Regions from separate parts of the Homo sapiens genome. Here region 1 is linked to region 2. Evidence: promoter capture Hi-C in 16 types of primary human blood cells and fetal thymus (Javierre and others, 2016). All regions are on one chromosome and are shown on one strand. The core of a region is centred on a gene start or on the middle of the fragment in contact, and the rest is flanking DNA. Distances in the headings are between cores, read along the strand shown.

Region 1 (4,990 bases), core at 2,083-4,582, 160 kb after region 2:
AGTTCAGCTTTTATTACATCAAAAAATTGGAAACTTTTGGCTGGGCGCAGTGGCTCATGCCTATAATTCTCAGCACTTTGGGAGGCCGAGGCAGGCAGGTCACCTAAGGTCGGGAATTCAAGACCAGCCTGACCAACAATGGAGAAACCCCATCTCTACTAAAAATGCCAAATCAGCCGGGCATGGTGGCGCATGCCTGTAATCCCAGCTACCTTGGGAGGCTGAGGCAGGAGAATCCGTTGAACCTGGGAGGCAGAGGTTGTGGTGACCCGAGATCGCGCCACTGCACTCCAGCCTGGGCAACAAGAGCAAGACTCCGTCTCAAAAAAAAAAAAAAAAAAAAAGTTGGAACCTTCTTAGTTTATTTTTCGTTTATTTTTCTTTTCTTTTTTTTTTTTGAGAGAGTCTCGCTCTGTCTGTTGCCCAGGCTGGAGTGCAGTGGCGCGATCTCGGCTCACTGCAAGCTCCGCCTCTCAGGTTCACGCCATTCTCCTGCCTCAGCCTCCCGAGTAGCTGGGACTCCAGGCGCCCACCACCACTCCCGGCTAATTTTTTGTATTTTTTAGTAGAGCCAGGGTTTCACCGTGTTAGCCAGGATGGTCTCGATCTCCTGATCTCGTGATCTGCCTGCCTCAGCCTCCCAAAGTGTTGGGATTACAGGCTTGAGCCACCGTCTTAGTTTATTTTATTTTATTTGAGATGGAGTCTTCCTGTGTTGCCCAGGCTGGAGTGCAGTGGCACAATCTCAGCTCACTGCAACCTCCGCCTCCCGGATTCAAGCAGTTCTCCTGCCTCAGCCTCCTGAGTAGCTGGGATTACGGGCACCCGCCACCATGCCTAGCTAATTTTTGTATTTTTAGGTAGAGATGGGGTTTCACCATGTTGGCCAGGCTGGTCTTGAACTCCTGATGTCAAGTGATCTACCTGCTTCAGCCTCCCAAAGTGCTGGAATTACAGGTTTGAGCCACTGCGCCTGGCCCATTCATTGTTTTTTTTGAGAGAAGGTTTCACTCTGTCACCCAGGCTAGATTGCAGTGGTGTGATCATGGCTCACTGTACCCTGGAACTCCTGAGCTCAAGTGATCATTCCACCTCATGGCTGATGAGACCACAGGAGTTCATCACCACATCAGGCTAATTGTCTATGTATTATGTGAAAAAGTTTTAAAACCATAGTGTTTTTATATGTGAATTTTTTAATGAAGAGAATAGCCTGTCTTCACACTTTTTAGAGTACATATGTGGATAATGGATCATTTTAAAAATATTTTATTATGGAAAGCTTAAAACATGTGTAAGTAGGCAGAATAATATTGTGTGCCACCATGTACATAATATTATTTTTTTCAATTCCTGGCCAATTTTGTGTCTTCCATACCCCAGTTCTTTTCTACGTCTTCCTTATTGTTTGACACAAATTATTGATGTGTCATATCATTTAATCTAGGTATTTCAGTATATTTTTCTGAAAAAGAGACTTTAAGAAACATCTGCCATCATTATCACATGCAAAAAATTAATGATTCTAGTCAGTGTTCACATTTCCAATTTTCTTATAAATGTCATAAATGATACTTTTTTTTTTCTTTTCGAGACAGGGTCTTGCTCTGTCTCCCAAGCTGGAGTGCAGTGGCACAATCAGAGCTCACTGCAACCTCAACCTTCTGGCTCTAGCAATCCTCCCACCTCAGCTTCCCAAGTAAATGGGAGTACAAGCGTGCACCACCACACCTAGCTAATGTTTTTCTTTTCAGTAGAGATGAGGTCTTGCTGTGTTGCCTAAGCTGGTCTCAAACTCTTTGACTCAAGTGATCCTCCTGCCTCGGCCTCCCAAAGTATTGGGATTACAGGCTTTAGGTACCACATGTGGCCTGTTGTGTGTGGTTTTATTTGTTGTTTTTTTTTTAAACTCTTTTTTTCCCCACAAACCAATTTGTTAGTGTTTAGGTGGTTTTTTCTGTTTTGCTTTTTTGTTTTTTGAGATAGGGTCTCGCTCTGTCACCCAGGCTGGGGTACAGTGGCACGATAACGGCTCGCTGCAACCTCAGTTTCCCGGACTCAAGCTGTCATCCCACCTCAGCCTGTTGAGTAGCTGGGATTACAGGTGCCCGCCACTATGCCCAGCTAATTTTTTGTATTTTTAGTAGAGACGGGGTTTCGCCATGTTGGCCAGGCTTGTCTCGAACTCCTGACCTCAGGTGATCCACCTGCCTTGGCTTCCCAAAGTGCTGGGATTACAGACGTGAGCCACCATGCCTGTACTTTTTTTTCGATAAACATGAATTCATGTTAGTTGTATAATTTTTTTTTTTTTTTTTTGAGACGGAGCCTTACTCTGTCACCCAGGCTGGAATGCAATGGCACAATCTCAGCTCACTGCAACCTCTGCCTCCTGGGTTCAAGCGATTGTCCTGCCTCAGCCTCCTGAGTAGCTGAGATTACAGGCATACACCACCACGCCCGGCTAATTTTGTATTTTTAATAGACATGGAGTTTCTCCATGTTAGCTAGGCTGGTCTCAAACTCCCGATCTCAGGTTATCCACCCACCTAAGGCTCCCAAAGTGCTGGGATTATAGGCATGAGCCACTGTGCCCAGCCAACAACCCTATTTCAATTTTTCCAGCCTACCACCTAAAGGATACTGTGACTATATGTAAGATTAAAGAATAAAAGCAGTTTAACAGAAATAAGCCTCTAGAGCTGCCTCAGGCCATTGATCTTCTCTCTAAAGCCAGTGCATCATCCCAACAAACAAGCACATTTAACAAGGCCAAGGAGAAGAGCTCTAGGGTTTCTTGCTCCCCAGTGCTGCTGCTTCCCTTCCCCAGCAGCAGCACATGGCATCGCTGTTTTCTCCAGAGTACTTGAAAGGGCTCTCTAGGGAGGCTTGCCAGACTGTTGGCAATTTCCCCTTCCCAGAGCACGATTACTAACACAAATAGAAACTAGGGTAGGGAAAGGATATTAAGCTCTCCTAAGAAGGTTGGTTTTCCAGAGATGATGGCAATAAAAACATATCCCTTATAATAAACTGGTAAACATTAAAAAAAAAAGACTGTTTTCTAAGACCTGGACTATTTAAATTGCTTGTTACAGCCCTTACCTTCCATTCTTATAAGCTATGCTTCAATTCAATTCAACATACCTTTGAGTACCTGTTACATGCCAAGGCCTTGTGGTAAGAAGCCCAGTTACAGAAAAAAATAAGACACAAACTTTACTCTCAAGTAAATTCATGTGTGTTTGTGTTCACGATATAACGTGACAGGTAATAATAACAAACAGGAAGATATCTAAGCTGTGATTTGCAAGATAAATGTTAAGGAAATGGGGCCGAAAGGTGTGGTAAGAGAGAGAAGACATTCAGATAGGGAAAACACCAATCTAGTAAGATACTTAAGGAATTGCAAGTAGTTTGATAAAACTGAAATATAAAAAACAAAGGGAGGGAATCAGTGTGGGGAGAGAGGCAGGATCCAGATCATGAAGGCCCTTTTATGACGGGGTAATGGGATTTCATCCTGCAGATGAAGATAAGCCAATAGTTTCATAAAGGGTATATTTTCTGGGTCTTGAAGGCTAAAATTGTGAGCATCTTCCATAACAAGATTAATCCTTGTCCATAAATCAATTTTAGTCCCAGATTTATCTTTTTTTGGAACAAGCCACAATAATAACTTCAGAGGAAGAGGCCGGGTGCGGTGGCTCACGTCTGTAATCCCAGCACTTTGGGAGGCTGAGGCGGGTGGATCATGAGGTCAGGAGATCGAGACAATCCTAGCTAACATGGTAAAACCCCGTCTCTACTAAAAATACAAAAAATTAGCCGGGCGTGGTGGCGGGCGCCTGTAGTCCCAGCTACTCGGGAGGCTGAGGCAGGAGAATGGCATGAACCCGAGAGATGGAGCTTGCAGTGAGCCGAGATCGCACCACTGTACTCCAGCCTGGGCAACAGAGCGAGACTCCGTCTCAAAAAAAAAAAAAAAAAAAAAAACTTCAGAGGAAGAAGAGTTTTCTTTGTGGTATAAAATAACGTTTCTTGGCCAGGCGCGGTGGCTTATGCCTGTAATCCCAACATTTTGGGAGGCTGAGGCGAGCTGATCACTTGAGATCAGGGATTCGAGACCAGCCTGGCCAACAAGACGAAACTCCGTCTCTACTAAAAATACAAAAATTAGCTGGGCGCAGTGGCGCACACCTTAACCCCAGCTACTCAGGAGGCTGAGGCAGGAGTATTACTTGAACCCTGGAGGCGGAGGTTGAAGTGAGTGGAGATCTGTGCCACTGCACTCTAGCCTGGGTGACAGAGTGAGACTCTGTCTCAAAAAAAAAAAAAAAAAAAAAAAAAAAATATATATATATATATATATATATATATATATATATATACACACAAAATATATATATACACAAAAATATATATACGAAATATATATATATATATATACACACACACACACACACACACACACAAAATAGATTCTGGCTGGGCGCGGTGGCTCATTCCTGTAATCCCAGCACTTTGGGATGCCGAGGTGGGTGGATCACAAGGTCAGGAGATCGAGATCATCCTGGCTAACATGGTGCAACCCCGTCTCTACTAAAAATACAAAAATTAGCTGGGCGTAGCGGTGCATGCCTGTAATCCCAGCTACTCAGGAGGCTGAGGCAGGAGAATTGCTTGAACCTGGGAGGCAGAGGTTGCAGTGAGCCAAGATCACGCCACTGCACTCTAGCCTGGCGACAGAGCTAAGACTCCGTCTCAAAAAAAAAAAAAAAGAAAAAATAGATTCTTCTGGCCAGGTACAGCGGCTCATGCCTCTAATCCCAGTACTTTGGGAGGTCGAAGCGGGCGGATCACTTGAGATCAGGAGTTTGAGACCAGCCTAGCCAACATGGTGAAACCTTGTCTCTATTTAAAAAATTTAAAAATTAGCTGGGCATGGTGAGGGCACCTGTAATCTCAGTTACTTGGGAGACTAGGACAG
Region 2 (5,473 bases), core at 1,781-4,280:
GGGCAACACGGTGAGACCCCATCTGTATAAAAAAACTTAAAAAAAAAATTAGGCCGGGTGTGGTGGCTCGTGCCTGTAATCCCAGCACTTTGGGAGGCCGAGGTGGGTGGATCATGAGGTCAGGAGATCGAGATCATCCTGGATAACACAGTGAAACCCTGTCTCTACCAAAAATACAAAAAATTAGCCGGGCGTGGTGGCGAGCACCTGTAGTCCCAACTACTCTGGAGGCTGAGGCAGGAGAATGGCATGAACCAGGAGGCAGAGTTTGCAGTTAGCCGAGAGCATGCCACTGCCCTCCAGCCTGGGTGACGGAGCAAGACTCCATCTCAAAAAAAAAAAAAAAAAAAAAAAATTAGCTGGGCATGGTGGCTCACGCCTGTGGTCCCAGCTACTTGGAAGTCTGAGATGGGAGGATCCTTGAGCCCAGGAGGTCGAGGCTGCAGTGAGCCATGTTTGTGCCACTGAACTCCAGCCTGGGTGACAGAATGAGACCTTGTTTCAACAAACAAACAAACAAACAAACAAACAAGGAACTAGTGATTGCTGTAGAGATGGCAGTTTTCTGACCCCAGGGTCCAGTGCTCCTCAGCCTTGAGCTTCTTCCAGATCAGATACGTCTTCTGGTTGCTGGCTTTAGTGGACACCAGGGGGCAGTGTGTTGCTAGGCTGCAGGCCACACCCAGTCCAGGACAATGTAGGATGAGGGCAAGGGACATGGAGAGGGGTGGTGAACCTAGTAAAGGAAGCCCCCACTGCTTTCTCCCTCAATTGTGAGGGCCTTAGGAATGGATTCCTGTTGCTCAGTCAGGGTTCCTCTTCCCAGGCCCTGTGAGTAAACTGAAGCATGAAGAAGAGGAATAGTCAGGGCTCCTGGGCAGCCTCCTGCTCCTCTTGCAGGAGTCACAAGCAGAGATTCCTCCCTTGCCCCTTCCCCCACACCTCCCCAGTTGCAGGCCCCCAGCTGCTGTCCAGACCGGAAGGGAGTCTCTTCCTGCTTGTTTCCTGGAGCCGAGTTTGGATATAGGCAGGAAAGGCCCGCCTGGGAGGAAAGAATATAGGGGTGTGACCTTCATGGAGGCAGGGAGCAGGGGGGCAGGTGAAATGAACAGAACAATGGGCCATCCAGATTTTTCCAGTTCTACTACCCAGGGCTGAGGGCCTGTGGCAGTGGCAGGGAAGGACACAGGTTCCACTGAAATGGGGAGAAGGACATTGTACAAAAAAAAAGTTTTATTTTGAAGATTACAGAACTTGTGCCATGACCCCACCTGGCTTCCATTCCCAGCAATCCAGGGATCTGTGGTGGGGATGAGAGTGAGAAAAGGGAGTAGGAGGGGAGGAGGGAGGCCTGGTGGGGGTGGGGAAGTGGAGTAACATGGTTGTTGAGAAGCTCGTGGCCCCCTAGGCCTGGGCCTCACTGTCTTTACTCCTCCATACTACAAGAGTGATGAGGAAGGGGATGAGGCAGATGGGGGCTATGATCATGGCCAGGAGTACATCCTCTGGGGGGTCAGAGAAGGTGGGCTGCACCAGGGAGCAGTTGGCAAAGTGGATCTGGTGAGTCTCAAAGATGATCCTCTCTGCCAAGGGATTGGGGAAGCCCAGGTCAAACAACTCTGCAAAGTGCTCCAGGCAATCTCGCAGGGTGCTATAAGGCCTAGGGGCAGAAGAGGACTTGAGTGAGAGAGGGGGTGGACCCAGGGAGAAGAGTGCCCCACTCTCACTCAGGGTCTACCTGCAATGAGCAGGTCCACCCCCTGGCCTGAGCCACCCTCCATCACTGCCCCTACCTGCTAATCATGGCCCAGTCGCACCAATCCTTTTCGATAGGATCCATTTGATCCTTATAATGATTCCAGCAAAATTGGACAGCTGTCTCATAGTTCTTCACCGTCCCCCCTGTAGGTACAGATGCTACACAATGACCACACCCCTACCCCTCCCTACAAACCCTCCTGCCCAGGTGCTTGCAAGGTGAACTGCCTGTCTTCAAACGTGGGAACCCTTCAGAAAGTTTCCCTAGCAAAACATTCTGGCTGAGGACAGAGTCCCAGCTCAGGAATCCTATAATGACTTCCATGTGCTAAGCACTTTCCATCCCAGCCTGATAAGAACTTCCACGTACACCTTTTCCTGGGGTCTTCTCGCCCACTTGTGAGGTGGGCAGCTCAGAGCCGTGCAGGGGCTTTGTAGGAGGACAGGGAGAAAGACCACGAGGAACCCCAAGAAAGAACAGAGGGGAGTGTAGTGGGGCATCAGCTGGGGTTGGGCAGGCCTCGTGGGAAAGGAACCCTCCCCACTGAACTTGCTCTCGTCCTTACCCTCGGCCACCCTTCCACACCCTGGGTACCCACCTTCTGACCCTGGTGTGCCTGTGGTGGGAAGAGGCTGAGCCAGGGCCTCGTGGGGATTCAGGACAGCTGTGGGAAGAAACGGGAGAGGAGGGTAACATAGCGGGGACCCCGGCAGTGGAGCCTGCGAGGGGGGTTGGGGGACTGAGACCCTCCGAAAATAGGCTACCTTGGAAGAAAAGGAGGAATAATCTAGCCCCCACGGACGCCTCAGTGCCGGGGAGGGAGGGGCTGGCACCAGCTCCTTGTCACTCACACCCAGGCCCAAAGCCCCCTCATCTCTGGCCAGCTTCCGTCCTCCTAAGCCCTCTTCGAGGGGCCGGGGCCAGCACCCCAGCTTTCCCTGGGTGGGAAGCAGCTCATGCTGCGCCCGCCCCGAGGTGGGGTCAGGGACCGTCCGAGGGCCAGTGCTGCTAGGTACGTCGGTCCTAACCCGCACCCCAGGGCCCGTTCCGGCCTCGGCCATCCAGCCCCTCTCCCCTCTCCCCTCTCCCCTCCGGGGCCTCTCGCGCCTCCCGCCCGGGCCTCGGGGCGCCGCGCTCACCGCCCAGCAGGAGGAGGAGGCGGAGCGCTGCCGGCCGCCCGACTCGGGTCCTAGGGAGACGCGGGCCGCCGGCGCGCTCCACCCGGAGCGAGGCCATCGTGCAGCAAGGAGGCGAGGAGCGGCGGCGGCGCTGAGCCGGGCCCGGGTGTGGGGGCGCCTATATCCCCAGCCCAAGCTGCAGGAAGCCGCGCCGCTTCCTCGGAGGGGCTGGGACGGCGGCGGCCACGTGGGGGGCGGGGGCGACGCTCGGGGCCCGCGGCTGGAGGGGGAGTCGCTGCCTCACCCGCGCCTGGCGCCCGCGGCTCCCTCCGCCTCGCCGGCGTTGGCCCACCCTCTCGTAGCTCACCCCGCGAGGCTGGACAGCTCCCGGAACCCCGGAACCGGGATCTATTTCGGGGGCTCGGCTGCGTGGCGCCCAGGACTCTCCAGGGTCTCCCAGGATCGCTCCCCGAATTCGAGTCGCCCCCTCTCTCTTTCGGGTCTGGAGGGGTCGGCAAGCTGCTCTCCCAGACGTGGAGAAGAGGGAGGGGGCTGGGAGCTCCAGCGGCCTCTCGACGCCGCTGCTTCTAAGGGGCTGTCCTGGGTTGTGGGGGAAGGGGCGCCTGGAGCTGAGCCATGCAGCTCAGGGTTCCTTATCCTATCCCTAGGAATACCAGCTGATGTCAGTCCGCCAGCCAAAACCAGGGAGGAGAAGCGGGAGCCAGCCCTCTGGAGTCGGGAGAAGGTCTGGGGAGTGGGGTAGAGGGGAAAGCAAAGTCCAAATACCTTCCCTTCAGACACCTCCTGGGGCCTAGACCCCACAAACCTGTTGTGGGGAGGGCAAAATACGATGACTACGTTCCCAGGAAGAAGGTGCCACAGCTCTTCAGGACCACGGTTGGGAGAAAGAATGGAGGGGTTTTAGAACCTTCAGTGTGCGACTTCATGTGCCAGGTGAGTGTAACACCATTTTACAGACCGAGAAGCTAAAGCTCAGGGCCAACAGCCCGGGATTTGAATTCAGAAGCTCTGGGTTCTAATTCTGTCTTCTTACTCCCCAGCTATAGAGCCTTGAATGACACGTTTACCTTCAGGACTTCTCATGTGAAATAGGGACATTCCCCTCCTCACTGTATGATGGCAGCTGTGAAAGGGCACTGCACTCGCTAAATGCTAGTTTCCTTTCCTCTTTTCCTAAGTGACTTATCTAAGGTCACACTGTTAAGGAAGCAGCAAGGCTGAGTCTGGGCCTCCGGGGGTCCTGACTTCAGCCACACCACAGCTGCTTCTTGTGTCCTGGGCCAGAGGTTCATTAGTCTGAAGCAGCTGAGGAGCCCAGGAGCTGGTTTGGCCATGACGTTCAAGTCCCAGACACAGCTGTCAGCACCAAACTTTCCTAAATTACTCCCAGACACTGACCCTTGGACTCAGCTGCTGCTGTTGTCCCAGTTTACTGATTCCTGCCCACCACAAATTATCTGTCCTGATCTCTCCTGAAGTCTTCATCTCAGGATCTCAAGCTCTTGGATCATGGGCACGGATAACCTGTTGTCCTCCTCTATGGTCAAGAGGCTGCTTTTGCAAAGAATCCAGTGGGAGAGAGTCAATGGCCTGCTTGACGTGAACTCCAAAGTCCTCCTGGTAAGGATCATTTCTACAATGATGCAGAAAAGAGCCATGCAGTCTCTGAGACATTTCAGGCTGGGACCAAATCTAGTCCTTCCTGCCTGCCTAGGATTGCTCCTTTCAAGAAGGAAGCATGGGAGATTTCTGAGTGATAAGATGGGAGGAAGGAGCAAGGAGGTGCAGAAAGCAAAACAAGCCATTTTCACTGGGTTGGGGCCAGAAGCACATGAGCCCACTATGGGTTAGGACTGGGGTTGGGGTCAAGATTAAAGGGGACAAAAGCAAATGTTAGATTTAAAATAGAGCCTGGGCAACATAGTGAAACCCTGTCTCTACAAAAAAAAAACTATAAAAAAATTTTTAAAAAATTAGCCTGGCATAGTGGTGTGCACCTGTAGTCCCAGCTACTCGGGAGGCTGAGGCAGGAGGATCACTTGAGCCCCAGAGGTTGAGGCTGCAGAGAGCTGTGATTGTGCCCTATCTCAAAAAAAAAAAAAAAGGACAATATGGCATAATGATAATGGATAATCATAACGGATGAAAGAAAAAAACTGATGAGGATTCTGAAGGTAGGTTCTGCCTCTGTCTTACTGCAAGTAACTTGAGCAGGTTATTTCACATCTCTGGAGCTCAAGATTTTCATATGTAAAATGGCCTTAAGATCAAAAAAGAAAATATAGGTAACTTGGTAGGAAGTTCCTATTTTATTTTTATCTTACTTTACTTTTTAGGAACAGGGGCTCACTCTGTTGCCCACATTGGAGTGCGGTGGAAGAATCATGGCATGCTGCAGTCTTGAGCTTCTAGGCTCAAGAGATCCTCCTGGTTCAGTCTCCCAAGTAGCTAGGACAGCAGGCATATTTTTTGTAGATATGGGGGTCTTGCTTTTTTGCCGAGGCTGGTCTCGAACTCCTGGCTTCAAGCAATCTTCCTGCATCAGTCTCTTAAAGTGTTGGGATTCCAGGCATGA

Evidence for each region. The method cuts DNA at HindIII sites, captures the fragments that hold promoters and counts their contacts. A CHiCAGO score of 5 or more calls a contact.
Region 1: a fragment that was not itself captured here is called in contact with the fragment with the promoter of RAMP2 in region 2 in 1 of 17 cell types (erythroblasts); the score reaches 6.1 in erythroblasts.

The regions. Positions count from the first base shown.
Region 1 is chr17:42,596,983-42,601,972 of GRCh38, reverse strand. All of the region lies in intron 1 of RETREG3 (reticulophagy regulator family member 3), which reads left to right. Among named protein-coding and RNA genes, the nearest start is that of RETREG3, 9.9 kb to the left of the region's middle. The HindIII fragment of the contact is 4,096 bases long and covers 1,285-4,990 here.
Region 2 is chr17:42,758,784-42,764,256 of GRCh38, reverse strand. It overlaps RAMP2 (receptor activity modifying protein 2), which reads right to left and starts at 3,030. Exons shown (of 4, transcript NM_005854.3): 1 at 2,899-3,030; 2 at 2,358-2,423; 3 at 1,794-1,902; 4 at 1,216-1,660. The coding sequence starts at 2,995. The coding sequence ends at 1,405. It overlaps RAMP2-AS1 (RAMP2 antisense RNA 1), which reads left to right and starts at 3,000. Exons shown (of 6, transcript NR_024462.1): 1 at 3,000-3,377; 2 at 3,546-3,622; 3 at 3,744-3,831; 4 at 4,377-4,518. RefSeq lists a silencer at 2,827-2,916. The HindIII fragment of the contact is 18,952 bases long and covers 1-5,473 here.